Linked DNA regions of Homo sapiens: all the other regions are linked to region 3. The links are contacts of gene promoters, found by promoter capture Hi-C in blood cells and fetal thymus (Javierre and others, 2016). All regions are on one chromosome and are shown on one strand. Each heading gives the region's core, a stretch centred on a gene start or on the middle of the fragment in contact. The rest is flanking DNA. Distances are from core to core; before and after follow the strand shown.

The links. The method cuts DNA at HindIII sites, captures the fragments that hold promoters and counts their contacts. A CHiCAGO score of 5 or more calls a contact.
Region 1: a contact is called between a fragment that was not itself captured here and the fragment with the promoter of MOGS in region 3, in 14 of 17 cell types (neutrophils, total B cells, naive B cells and 11 more). The highest score is 10.5, in neutrophils.
Region 2: a fragment that was not itself captured here is called in contact with the fragment with the promoter of MOGS in region 3 in 9 of 17 cell types (total B cells, erythroblasts, naive B cells and 6 more); the score reaches 8.0 in total B cells.

The regions. Positions count from the first base shown.
Region 1 is chr2:74,588,161-74,592,691 of GRCh38, reverse strand. All of the region lies in intron 4 of M1AP (meiosis 1 associated protein), which reads left to right. Among named protein-coding and RNA genes, the nearest start is that of DOK1, 36 kb to the right of the region's middle. The HindIII fragment of the contact is 4,982 bases long and covers 1-4,127 here.
Region 2 is chr2:74,573,055-74,577,651 of GRCh38, reverse strand. It overlaps M1AP (meiosis 1 associated protein), which reads left to right. Exons shown (of 11, transcript NM_001321739.2): 6 at 1,034-1,196; 7 at 2,073-2,214. Among named protein-coding and RNA genes, the nearest start is that of DOK1, 21 kb to the right of the region's middle. RefSeq lists an enhancer at 1-167. The HindIII fragment of the contact is 515 bases long and covers 2,458-2,972 here.
Region 3 is chr2:74,462,944-74,467,996 of GRCh38, reverse strand. It overlaps MOGS (mannosyl-oligosaccharide glucosidase), which reads left to right and starts at 2,615. Exons shown (of 4, transcript NM_006302.3): 1 at 2,615-3,101; 2 at 3,275-3,501; 3 at 4,611-4,807; 4 at 4,985-5,053. The coding sequence starts at 2,750. RefSeq lists silencers at 341-635, 2,829-3,048. The HindIII fragment of the contact is 14,256 bases long and covers 1-5,053 here.

The DNA of each region.
Region 1 (4,531 bases), core at 387-2,886, 130 kb before region 3:
GGTACAATAAAGAAAGATTTATTTATTTAACTATATGAAAATAAAAATCTTTGGCATGGCAAAAAGTACCATAAACAATGTCAAAAGACAACTGAAAAACCAGGAGAAAGTATTTGCAATTTATGCCATGGGAGAAAAAAAAGACTAATATCTCTAATATATAAAGAACACTTTAAAACTGAGGAGTAAGAAAAAGACCAAAAACACTAGAGAAAAATGGAAAAAAGTCATAAACACATAATTCAAAAAAAGATTTTTAAATGGTCCTTAAACATGTGAAAATATGTTCAACCTCACCCATAATTAGAGAAATGATAATTAAGACTATACCAAAATATTATTTCCTACCTATTATTAGATTGGCAAAAGTTAAAAAGTATGACACCAATAGAAGTGGCATGTGTTTATTTTTAAACACAAAATTACCTATGTGTTTTACTTCTATCCCTAGAAGTCACCAGCCCCACTTCTAGGAATCTAATACCCTGAAGATACACCCCCAGATCTACAAAAATGCATGTATATACACAGAGTCGGTTGCAAAGCTATTATACAGTCTATCTAGGATTTTTTTAAGAATATGTCTTAGGTCTGGGCTCAGTGACTTATGCCTGTAATCCCAGCACTTTGGGAGGCCGAGGTGGGTGGATCACTTAGGTCAGTAGTTCGAGACCAGCCTGGCCAACATAGTGAAACCCCTTCTCTACTGAAAAAAAATAAAATAAAATAAAATAAAAAGTTAGCCAGGCGTGGTGGTGGGCGCCTGTAATCCCAGCTACTCAGAAGGCTGAGGCAGGACAATCACTTGAACCTGGGAGATGTAGGTTGCAGTGAGTTGAGATCACACCACTGCACTCCATCCTAGAGGACAGAGTGAGACTCTGTCTCAAAAAAATAAAAGAGTATGTCTTAGGACTTTCTTTGATTTGAGCGTCTTCTTTAGCTTTTCCTTACTCTACTTAGCTCCCCCAAGTAAGTCTTTTCTTTCATGGCTCCACTTACATTTATTTTCACCTCAAGGCAGCTCTTTCTTTCAGTTCCCTTAGGTGTAAGGAGTCAAAACTGCTTGGTGTGGTTCTTGGGTCATGTCAAAAGATTTAACGCCTTCCTAACTCTGCTTTCTTCTTAATTCAAACTTCTCCTAAATAACCCATTCCCCTGCTCCCTCCCCCACCACAGTGCCTATGACAATATTTCTTCCCAGCTTTTCAATTTTGCATTGCAATTTACATTAAATGCTTTTTGGTTTATAGAATATATGTATTAGTCCCTGTAGAAAAAGAAGACTTTTAAAATACCTTCTAAGTCTAATGTTTCTCACGTCAAAAAATACTTCAGACTTTGGAATATTTCAATCAATAGTGATCAATCTCTTTTGCATATAAGCTGCATTTTTCCAATAAAATGAAAATGAAGCCATTGAGACCCATAGATAAAATATATTTTCTTACAACTTAGATCTTTATTGAAGAGAAAATTTTCAGCAAAAGAAATGGCACTGGCTTTTAGTGAATAAAATGTTCATATCTACTACATAGACAGCTGGGAGGCGGCTTTATACTCTATCATCCCTTATAGTTGCATGGTGCTTTAAAGTCCACAAATTGCTTTCAGGAGTCAAGTGTCATTATTTCATTTTCAAGTAAACCCTTAGCCTAGGTATCACTATCATTCCCACTTTACAAATGGAGAAATTGAGCTTAAAGAGATGAAGTGACTGGCCTAAGGTCACAGAGAAAGTAAGCACCAGGCTGGCTAGTTTCTTCTGTTCAATATAACGTTTACTGAGCCCCTGTTGTATGTAAACACTGCGCTAGTGCTGTGGGTACAGAGGTAGATAAGGTGCTACAACTGGTGCCAGAGGCAGGTATACCCTGCCTTAACCAGGGCCCTTCTCTCCCGTACCTGCAATAACTTCTCTCTGGACTGTCTAGGGCAGAGCAAGTCACTCAGTTCAAAGTGGGATTGGCAATCCGGGAACACTTCCGTGGCTCCAGAGGTGAGGGGTGCAGTGCAGCTTCTCTCATAGGGCAGTCCCCACTTCTGCCCTCTTAGAAACACACAAGCCTAAGAAAAAGATTATAAAAAGGCTACTCTCCCAGCCAAAATAATTGCTCTCTAAACTTTTTCTTACCCAATTCATCTGTTTACTAAAGGCTGAAATACTACATTTGAAATTGTAGTATTTGGGACCTATCTTAGAGCTAAGGGAGTCTGCTATGGTCTGAATGTTGTATCCCGCCCCCGCCCCCCCTAAAATTCATCTTTGAAATCTAATCACCAAATAGATAGTATTAGGAGGTGGGGCCTTTGAATGGTGGATTAGGTCATGAGGGAGGGCAGAATCCTCCTGAATGGGATTAGTGCTTTTATAAAATGTTCCCTAAGGAGCTTGTCTGCCCCCTCCACCATATGAGGATACAGTGAGAAGGGGCCATTTATCAACCAAAAACAGGTCCTCCCCAGACATTGAATCTGCCAGCACCTTGATCTTGGACTTCCCAGCCTCCAAAACGGTGAGAAATATATTTCTGTTGCTTATAAGCCACTGGTTTGTGGTATTTTGTGATAGCAGCCCAAATAGAACCCACTATTCCCTAGTCAGAAATTATGTAAATCAAGTTTGTCCAACCTGCTTCCCGCAGGCTGCATGCAGCCCAGGACGGCTTTGAATGCAACCCAACAAAAATTCGTAAACTTTCTTAAAACATTATAAGATTTGTTTTTAAGCTCATCAGCTATCATCAGTGTTGATGCATTTTATGTGTGGCCCAAGACAATTCTTCCAATGTGGCCCAGGGAAGCCAAAAGATTGGACACCCATAATATAAATCATCCATTGTGAACCATTAGTTCTTTAGTTAACAGTCAATTATTTTTTTCAGCCTGCCTTAGACTATATTAGCTTGATGAGGGCAGGTGAATGGACAACTGCTAACAATAGAATTCCCTGGGTAGCTGACCAGAGCTGGGAAAGAGGCATGTCCACTACAGGCTGAAGGATCTCTGCTTGAGCTCTGCTCATGGAACTCCCAGATTCCTCTTCCCTCCTTCCCCACTGCCTGCCAGCACCACACAACAGGAAAGCATAAGCGGTAAAGCTGGGCTGGGACATGTGGCACCTTACACAAGCTGATAGCTTGGGCACACCTTCAAACAAATATTTTTAAAATGCTAATTCAGTAGTTGTTTAGAAGCTAAGAGCTACAAAGAAAAAGAGAAAGAAAAAGGAACTTGCTTTACTCTGCCCCACTCTTGCACAGTTCCTGAGCAATACCAAATTGCAATAATGGAACCCACCCTTCTTCAAAGCAAGTGTAGTGACCCCTGTTGATACATGAGTGTGCCACTTTGGGGGTCTTGTCCTTCACCCCAGCAGCTTATTAGCTAGTCCTCACTTCCTTCCTTATTCTGCTTTAGTCTTCTGGCTAATCCCCCAACACAAAAAGCTCATTCCCATCTCAAGACCTTTGAACTTGCTCATCTCTCTATAAGAAACAATCTTCGCACAAATGTTTTTATGACTCACTTCACGTCATTCAAGTTTCTGCCCAACTGTCAGCTTCTTAAAGAATACTTCCCTGGCCAGCCAAGCTAAAACTTCACATGCATGCACGCGCGCGCGTGCACACACACACGCCCCTTTATTTTTCTTCATAGTATCTATCATCTGAAATTGTATTCTGTTTTATTTGCTTGCTTATTATCTGTTCTCTCACTAGAATGTAAGCCACGAAAGTAGGCAATTTGTCTCTTTTCTTGATGACACCAATAAGTGCCTAGCTCATAAAAGACAGTAAACTAATAAGTGCTTGAATGACTAAATAAATGAATGACTAAGCAAATGAATGAATGACAACAGTTCTCTCTCTCTGAGAAGAGTTCTGGGATATAAATTTTCTCTATCTCATTACAGTTATGGTGATGTTTTGACCCTCTTACAGACTGGGGCTCCAGGAAGATAGTCACCACTAGGTCCATTCCTGCAGTCACCTCTCTGCCCTGAGTTCACATGTTGATAACCACTACCACCACCCCTGCCAACTCTTTTCAAGGGGCTTCTCCTTTTTCCTAGGGTCCAAGCATCACTTCCACAAATGAGGCAAATGAGCTTAGAAAGACAAGCTTGACTGCCTCACCGTTGTAAGCTGTTAGATTATTCTCATGTTGTGTTGATTTAAAGACAATGGTTGGATGATGCTGCACTGCTGTTCCTGACTAAGCTTTATCTGCTGTGATTACTTACCCTGGTTGTTAACATCCTATAGCTATCCTGTATTCAGAGAGTAGACAGCTAATTGTAAACCAACCCAGGCAGGCTAAGATACTGTGACTCTATAGTCTCTGTAGTGGTTCTTGACCTTTTTGGGGTCATAGAGCTCTTTTGAGAATCTGATAAAAGCTAGGGGCTTTCCCCCTTCCCCCACCCCACCAAAATACATCTATGCATGTACAGATGAATTGTATATAATTTCAAGGGGTTCTCAGAATGTCTGAAGCCCATCCATGACACCCAAGTACAGGCCTCATG
Region 2 (4,597 bases), core at 1,466-3,965, 110 kb before region 3:
GTGATAAGACCTAATGTCTAGGTCTTATTCACAGGGCCCAGGAGGGCCAGCTGGATCTAACATCTGTTCTGCCACTCTATTTTTTTCTATGTTGTTTTTTACCTCATATTGCAGTTAGTACAGTCATTTCACAAGTCACTAGCATCAACTACCAGCCTTCTCAGAAGTACTCAACATTTGTATATTCACAAGTTTGTTATCACTATTCAAGCCAGGTATACGTTTTATTGAAGAACTTTGTAATATCAAGGATTTAAGCTTGTGTAACAGATCATCATACACTATGGCATATGCAGTTACCTACTGGAGCAGAAGCTTAATGCAGAAGAGTAAAATACCTAGATGAGTAACTCCTACCTAGCCTAAGCATTCCTCAGAACTGTTGTCTGATGCCACTGTGATGCTCCAAGGCCCAGAAGGTCCTAAATTCATGTTTCTTTGGGGAATTAAAAAATAAGCTATTTCAGGAACTTATTCCTTTCCCCCCACTCTGAATGTCCCTGAACGAGCCCACAGAGAAACAGTAGCAGTCATCTGACTGCCTGACTTCTGCTTTACTGCTCTTCCTTCATCTGACCTGCACTGTTGCCAAAGCTTAGCCACAAGGAAGCAGCAGAAGCAAGATTTCCTTCTGTGATTGCCAAAGGGCCTCTGCATATTTTGGCATTAGCTACCTCCTCCACAGAGGATACATGTTCCTCAGACTGGATCACAAGCCAGATGTCTCACTATGAGACAACTGCTCAGCCAGCCCAGAAGTAAAACAAGTAAAGATCATGTCAGACTCTTGAAGATAAGTTAACTTTTATGTAGAGCGATAGAGATACTATAGCTTCCAGACCTGTTCTCCCTTTCCAAACCAGTCAGGCTTTCCTCTTTCCACTCTCCTGCCTCCTCCTATCCCTTGCTTGCCTGGTAGAGATGGAATGGGTAGCAGATGTTGTCTCTTAATGGCATAGCCTAAGGTAACTTATTACCCACAATCCTTCCTCCAATTGTAGTGTGTCTGAAATGTAATCTCCTTTTATTGTAGTGTGTCTGAAATGTGATCTCCAAGAGCGACTGCTCTGCCCATCCCTACTCGCTGGCACAGCTGACGGCTCCTTGAGAATGGATGACCCTAAAGGAGACTTCATCACACTCTACCAGATGGCTTCCCAGTCATCGGCCTCTCATTACAAGCTCCAAGTGATCAAGTATGGTCCAAGGGAACCTCCCCAATCCATGCAAATGCTATTCTTAGTGGTTCTGTGGCTAGGAACTCCAGAGATAGATGGTATCTCTTAAGTGTCAGGCAGGCAAGAGTCAGTTCCGAAGTAGCAGTTACAGCTATGGCATGAGGAAGCAAAGACAGGCTACTCAGCATGTGGAGGCCAAATGTGCAGATGGTGGGAGAAGCGCTGCAGTAGAACACTCTGAGGTCTGCATGAGGATTGTTTTTCTTTTGACTCATTAAAAAGGTGTTTATCCATTTAGTAAATGTTTATTGAATAGCTACTTTGTTTAGGCATCAAGACAGAGATCCAACCTTCAAGGAGTAAGTGGTACATAGGATCTACCCCTGCCCCCTCCCATTTCTCTAAGTACTAGAATTCCTTCTTCCAGGAGAACCAATTGTAGGATAGAATTAGCAGACTAGGCACGGTGGCTCATGCCTGTAATCCCAGCCACTCTGGGAAGCTGAGGCAGGAGGATCGCTTGAGCCCAAGAGTTCAAGGCTGCAGTGAGTTAATTGAACCACTGCACTCCAGCCTAGGTAACAGAGCAAGCCCTTATCTTGAAAGAAAAACAAAACAAAACAAAAAAACACAATGAATTAGCAATAATGGCAGAGTCTGCTTCAACTCTTCCCAGTTCCTACCACTGTGCCCATGCACAGGTTCCTGAACTTTGACAATCTTCTGTGTGCTAGATACTATGCTAGATGCTGGCCATACAAAGATGCATAGTTCACAGACACTAATTTAAAAGCTTTCACAGTACTGTCTTAGAGTTAAGCTGAATTGAAGTGGATCTAGGTGGAGGTTCTAGATATCACTAAGGAGTCTTTGACTGTAATTATCTCTTCCTAGGGCTTTAAAATCTAGCGGGCTCTGCGAGTCATTGACATATGGACTCCCGTTCATCCTCAGACCTACAAGCTGTTGGCAGCTGGACTGGGATGAGCTGGAGACAAATCAGCAACATTTCCATGCTTTGTGTCACAGCCTGCTGGTGAGTACCCATGTCCCCAGGTGAAAAAGAAGAATCGTTTTTAAAGTACCAACCACAGAAAAGCAGCTAACTAACTCTGCCCAATCCTAAATCTGCCTCAACCCTCAAGAAGACAGAAAAAACTGGAAATACTCTGAAATTTGGAGTAAATATGACTTGCCTTTTGTTGGTTTCATGCTATAGAGAATAATTCCTGAATTCAGTTATACAACACTAAACTTGAAAATCCCCGATTGGCAAGCTTAACATTTAAATGGCAACAGGGAATTTTCCGTACGTACCTGTATTTTAAAACCTACTTCCTTCCTAACACTGATAGACGTTATGGTTCATTTAAATGAAGAGCATTTAGTCTATGCCAGACATTGTGTCAAGCCCTAGATATATATTCTGTAGTGACCTAAAAGACATTACCTATGACCTTAAGAAACCCACTCTCCAATGGAAGAAACAGAAATGTATATATTCTTAATTATGAGAAGTTTATAAAGGAAAAGAAAAAGCTGCTATAAGAAAGCCTGTCTATAGAAGTGACATTTAAACTAAGACCTACAAGATAAGTGAGAATTAACCAGGTGAAGGGTGGCAGGCAGAGCATTCCAGGTGTAAGGAAAGGCATGTGCAAAGACCCTAAGGCTGGAAAGAGCTGAGAGAAAAATCAAGAACAGAAAAGCCATTGTGACTGAAACAGGGAGGAAGGGAGAGAGTGACAAAAGGTAGGGTTGGAGAGGTGAGCAGGGGTCAAATCATGCAAAGCTTTGTAGGCCAAATTAAGGATTTGGACTTAGGGAAACAAATCATGAGAAATAACATTATCTATTTCAGTTTTTAAAATATTACTTGGGCAGAAATTTGGAAATGAACTCGCAGAAGCAAAAATGGAAACATGAAAATGAGCTAGGAGGGTATTGCAGTAGACTAGTCAAGAGACCGTGGTGGTTTGAACTAGAACATTGGAAGTCAAGATGAGATGAGCAAACCAATTAGAGAAATATTTTAGAATCGCTTCTTGGCCTTTTAGCTATGACCAAGTGTAGAAATATTTTAGAGAGAAGATTGTCAGAACTTGGTTGAGAGATTGGATATAGGGAGTGAGAAAGAGGAAGTATCAAATAACTGCATGGTTTCTGACTTGAACAACTAGATGGATGTCATTCCCTGAAATGGAAAAAATAAAAGCAGTCACATGAAACTAACACAACACTTAGCAAAATTAAAACAACTGCAAATAGAATGCAAGGACAGATATAGAATAAAGGTTTGACTTAGTAGGATGATCAGGACAGCACAGCAATGCATCTCTTTCACTATCAGAAGCAGACTTCTTTTTTTCCTGTTTCGAAGCCCGCACTCCCTTTTAGGTCCACCCACTGAGTTCCTGTTTCCTGTCTGAAGAACACCCATCTCCTGTCTTTGCAGAGCAGAGACAACGGAGCCGTTGTAACTGTTAGTGCCCAACAGCTCAGTTTACTATTTACTCCACCCAGTTCCTCAGAATCTGAGATGATACATCACATGGGAGGAATTTCTCCCAGGTGGCTTCAATACATTCTTACAGTATTTGATATTTTAAACATACATTGACATTTTAATACACTGCTAGAGAGGATGTAAATTTTCCGGAAAATGATACCCTTTCCTTTTGCTGGGAATGTAGCCAAAGAAGACAGTCAGGAAAGGGATGAAGATATATGTACCAGCATGTTCATCTCGGTGTTATTTACAGTGGTGAAAAATTAGAAACAACTCAAATGTCCTAAGTAGGGGAAAAGTTATAGGAACTATAACCTGGTGTGGTGACTCACGTCTGTAATCCCAGCACTTTGGGAGCCCAAGGCAGGTGGATCACTTGAGGCCAGGAGTTCAAGACCAGCCTGGCCAACATGGTGAAATCCCACAGCTACTAAAAATACAAAAATTAGCCAGGCATAGTGGCACGCACCTCTAATCCCAGCTACTCAGGAGGCCGAGACATGAGAATCACTTGAACCCGGGAGGCAGAGGTTGCAGTGAGCCAAGATCGCACCACTGCACTCCAGCCTGGGCGACAGAGCAAGACCCTGTCTCAAAAAATAGTTATAATAGGCTGGGCACGGTGGCTCATACCTGTAATTCCAGCACTTTGGGAGGCCGAAGTGAGTGGATCACAAGGTCAGGTGTTCGAGACCAGCCTGGCCAACATGATGAAGCCCTGTCTCTACTAAAAATAAAATAAAATAAAAAATTAGCTGGGCGTGGTGGCAGATGCCTGTAATCCCAGCTACTTGGGAGGCTGAGGCAGGAGAATCGCTTGAACCTGGGAGGCGGAGGTTGCAGTGAGCCGAAATCGTGCCACTGCACTCCAGCCTGGGCAACAGTGTGAGACTCTGTCTCAAAAAAAAAA
Region 3 (5,053 bases), core at 1,366-3,865:
TTTCACCATGTTGGCCAGGCTGGTCTTGAACTCCTAACCTCAGGTGATCCACCGCCTCAGCCTTCCAAGGTGCTGGGATTACAGGCGTGAGCCACCACACCCGGCCAACCCTAATTTTTAAATTTTTTGTAGATGGGGGGGTCTCCTCATCTTGTCCAGGCTGGTCTAGAACTCCTGAACTCAAGTGATTCTCCTGCCTTGGCCTCCTAAAGTGCTGTGATTACAGACGTGAGCCACCACACCCAGCTAAAAGTATTCTTTTAGGTAACTTGTTTTAAATAAGTTGTGTGTGTATGTGTATCTGCACATACTGGGTTGCACTATGGAATTATTTCTTATTGTGAGTTGTAGGAAAATGGTTGAAAGCCACTGCTTTAGACACCTTCACAATGCTCAGCTAGGTAACAAAAGATCTGTAGACAGTGGCCTGCTGTGTACTTTGCCAGATACATTTCCCACGACCCTCCTACAGCAGCATTACTATACCTTTTCCCGGTCTAAAAGGGTGCTATCTTCAAAGGACCGTTTTTCCCCTCCCCCTTTAAAAAAGAAAGCTAGGAGGAGGCAGTATAGTGTTGTAATGAGCCAGACTGCTTGGGGTTGAGATCCTAGCTTTGTTTTTATGTAGCTGTATGACTTTAGACAAATTATTTAATCTATCAGTGCTTATTTCATTTGTAAAATGAAAATAATAGTACTTTTCTCATAGGACTGTTAAGGAGATTAAATGAATTAATATCTGTAAAGTACCTAAAACATTGCTGGGAGTGTAGTAACTGCTGTTATCTAAGAGGCCTTATTTATTCTTTTTTTTTTTTTTTTTTTTTTTTGAGACAAGAGTTTCGCTCTTGTTGCCCAGGCTGGAGTGCAATGGCACAATCTTGGCTCACTGCAATCTCTGCCTCCCGGGTTCAAGTGATTCTCCTGCCTCAGTGTCACGAGTAGCTGGGATTACAGGCATGCACCACCATGCCCAGATAATTTTGTATTTTTTAGTAGAGACGGGGTTTCTCCATGTCGGTCAGGCTGGTCTCGAACTCCCAGCCTCAGGTGATCCGCCCGCCTTTGCCTCCCAAAGTGCTGGGACTACAGGCTTGAGCCACTGCGCCTGCCCTAAGAGGCCTTATTCTAAAGTCAAAAGAACAACCTGGATTTGAGTTCCCCAGCTCCATAATTAACTGGCTGTTATTTTGGGTCAGTCTTAACTACTCTCCTCATCTGTAAAAATGGGGGTGGTCTGGCCAGGCGCGGTGGCTCACGCCTGTAATCCCAGCACTTTGGGAGGCCGAGGTGGGTGGATCACCTGAGGTCAGGAGTTCGAGACCAGCCTGGCAAACCTGGTGAAACTCCATCTCTACTAAAAATACAAAAATTAGCTGGGCGTGGTGGTGGGCACCTGTAATCCCAGCTACTCGTGAGGCTGAGGCAGGAGAATCACTTGAACCCTGGAGGCAGAGGTTGCAGTGAGCCGAGATCATGCCATTGCACTCCAGCCTGGTGACAGAGCGAGACTCCGTCTCAAAAAAAAAAAAAAAAAAAAAATGGGTATGGTTCAACATGCATTGAGTGCTGGCATTGTGCTTCTAGACTGTGAACTTGAGGTTGGGGCCATTTTCTCTGAGTCCCCAGCACCTTGCATAATGCGATATAGGGTGTACAATAAACATGTGTTGAATTTATAAATATTTAGCATCTGCCTTATGCCTATAATTGATTAGTACTGTGATACAAAGATGAAAAATGAAACAGGTATGTAATAAGTGCTACAATAAGGATGTCGACAAATGCAACGGTAGCAAGAAAGACAAAAACAGGACTAACCATTGGGTTTGGTCAGATGATTTCATAAGCAAAAAGTCTACCACTAGTGGAGAGTGGGGCCACCAGTCAGATTATAGTGAAATATAAGTGGTCGTGTTGCATAAAGCATCAGTCTCTCTCTCTCTCTCTCTCTCTCCCTCCGTCCCTCCCTCCCTCCCTCCATCTCTCTCTCTCTCTCTCTTTCTTTTTTTTTGAAACAGTTTCACTCTTGTTGCCCAAGCTGGAGTGCAATGGCGCAATATCGGCTCACTGCAACCTCCGCCTCCCAGGTTCAAGCAATTCTCCTGCCTCAGCCTCCCGAATAGCTGGGATTACAGGCACCCACCACCACACCCGGCTAATTTTTGTATTTTTAGTAGAGATGGGGTTTCACCAAGTTGACCAGGCTGGTCTCCAACTCCTCATGTCTGGTGATCCACCTGCCTCGGCCTCCCAAAGTGCTGGGATTACAGATGTGCGCCTCGGTGCCTGGCCACATCAGTCTTTTTTTTTTTTTTTTGAGACGAAGTCTCGCTCTGTCGCCCAGGCTGGAGTGCAGTGGCACAATCTCGGCTCACTGCAACCTCCGCCTCCCGGGTTCAAACGATTCTCATGCCTCAGCCCAACGTTAGATTGGTTTTTCCGAGCCTGTGAACTCCATGGGGTCGCCAGATAAACGCAATCCCGGTGGACCAACGCCCAGGACAGACGCTACGTACCAACCCTGTGTCAAGCCGCAGGCAGCGGTTCCGGACTCTGGGACTTAACCTAACGTGGCGGGGCGGGACTTCCGGCGGGAGGCGGAGGCGGAGGCGCAGGCGCTGGCTGGCAGGTGTCGCTAACCGGACGGTGGTCGCCAGGGCGAGAGGCGGGAGCCGGAGAGGTGAGGCAGGACCCGGGCTCCACTGCCGCCTCTCCGAGCTCTTGTGACGCGGACCTCAGTGCCAGGATGGCTCGGGGCGAGCGGCGGCGCCGCGCAGTGCCGGCAGAGGGAGTGCGGACAGCCGAGAGGGCGGCTCGGGGAGGCCCCGGGCGACGGGACGGCCGGGGCGGCGGGCCGCGTAGCACGGCTGGAGGAGTGGCTCTGGCCGTCGTGGTCCTGTCTTTGGCCCTGGGTATGTCGGGGCGCTGGGTGCTGGCGTGGTACCGTGCGCGGCGGGCGGTCACGCTGCACTCCGCGCCTCCTGTGTTGCCTGCCGACTCCTCCAGCCCCGCCGTGGCCCCGGACCTCTTCTGGGGAACCTACCGCCCTCACGTCTACTTCGGCATGAAGACCCGCAGCCCGAAGCCCCTCCTCACCGGTAACCGGGCCCCAGGGCGGGCAGGCAGGCGGACTCCTAATCTGGGCGCCCCAGCTTGAAGCGAGAGCAAGGGTGGGAAGGAATGGATCAGGAGAGTTATGAAGAGGGATGACCCGGAGACCCGGAGGGACAGGTCCCCTGCTCTTTGACTTACGTGGCCATTCTACCCCCAGGACTGATGTGGGCGCAGCAGGGCACCACCCCGGGGACTCCTAAGCTCAGGCACACGTGTGAGCAGGGGGACGGTGTGGGTCCCTATGGCTGGGAGTTCCACGACGGCCTCTCCTTCGGGCGCCAACACATCCAGGATGGGGCCTTAAGGCTCACCACTGAGTTCGTCAAGAGGCCTGGGGGTCAGCACGGAGGGGACTGGAGCTGGAGAGTGACTGTAGAGCCTCAGGTCAGGGCCTCAGGACACCCTTTTCTCAGCCCAGACCCCCTCCATCCTTCCCTTGCTGCCAGCAAATGCAGCATGAAGTGGGCTCTGGCTGCCTGGCTTAAATCCTGCCTTAAACAACTGCCTGTATAACCATTTCTATTTACCATCTCTAAGCCTTGATTTCCTTGCTTGTAAAATGTACAATGTAGATAATAATAGCACTTAACTCACAGGACTGTAAGAATTAAATGAAAAAGAGGCTGGGCGCGGTGGCTCACGCCTGTAATCCCAGTACTTTGGGAGGCCGAGGCTGGCGGATCACCTGAGGTCAGGAGTTCCAGACCAGCCTGACCAAAATGGAGAAACACCGTCTCTACTGAAAATATAAAATTAGCCGGGCGTGGTGGCGCATGCCTGTGATCCAAGCTACTTGGGAGGCTGAGGCAGGAGAATTGCTTGAACCAGGGAGGTGGAGGTTGCGCTGAGCCGAGATCGTGCCATTGCACTCCAGCCTGGGCAACAAGAGCAAAACTCCATCTCAAGAAAAAAAAAAAAGCCAGGCGCGGTGGCTCACGCCTGTAATCCCAGCACTTTGGGAGGCTGAGGCGGGCGGATCATGAGGTCAGGAGATGGAGACCATCCTGGCTAACACGGTGAAACCCGGTCTCTACTAAAAATACAAAAAATTAGCTGGGCGTGGTGGCGGGCGCCTATTGTCGCAGCTACTCGGGAGGCTGAGGCAGGAGAATGGCGTGAACCTGGGAGGCGGAGCTTGCAGTGAGCTGAGATCGCGCCACTGCACTCCAGCCTGGGCGACAGAGCGAGACTCCGCCTCAAAAAAAAAAAAAAAAAAAAAGAATTAAATGAAATCAACTGTGTAGAGTTCTTAGTGTAGGACATAGTACAAAAGTATACTGTTATCTCCCAGGGCACCCAGTGCAAGGCTCTTTATCTCATCCCGCTTGGGTGTACCTGGTTACCCTCAGTGACCCTCATTACTGCCAGACGTATGTTGTTTACATTACCCCTGCCTACTGTTCCTTTCCCTCACTAAGGCTGATTCTCAAGAGGGAATTCAAGAGAGAATGCCAATCTAACACTGTTCTTTTCTGTCCTCGTTGGTCACTCAGGACTCAGGTACTTCTGCCCTCCCTTTGGTCTCCCTGTTCTTCTATGTGGTGACAGATGGCAAGGAAGTCCTACTACCAGAGGTTGGGGCCAAGGGGCAGTTGAAGTTTATCAGTGGGCACACCAGTGAACTTGGTGACTTCCGCTTTACACTTTTGCCACCAACCAGTCCAGGGGATACAGCCCCCAAGTATGGCAGGTAACTGGGGGAAAAGAATGTTGGGGGATGGAAGGGGTGGTTATTCCCATTTTCACCAGTCTCCATGTCCCCTGCCTGAGACCTCCCAACCTGACTCCTGAACACTTTGTATTTCTCTTTATAATGCCCACTGCCTTCTCTTGAATAATATTTCCTATTTATCTTCTCCCCTTCAAGCTACAATGTCTTCTGGACCTCCAACCCAGGACTGCCCCTGCTGACAGAGATGGTAAAGAGTCGCCTAAA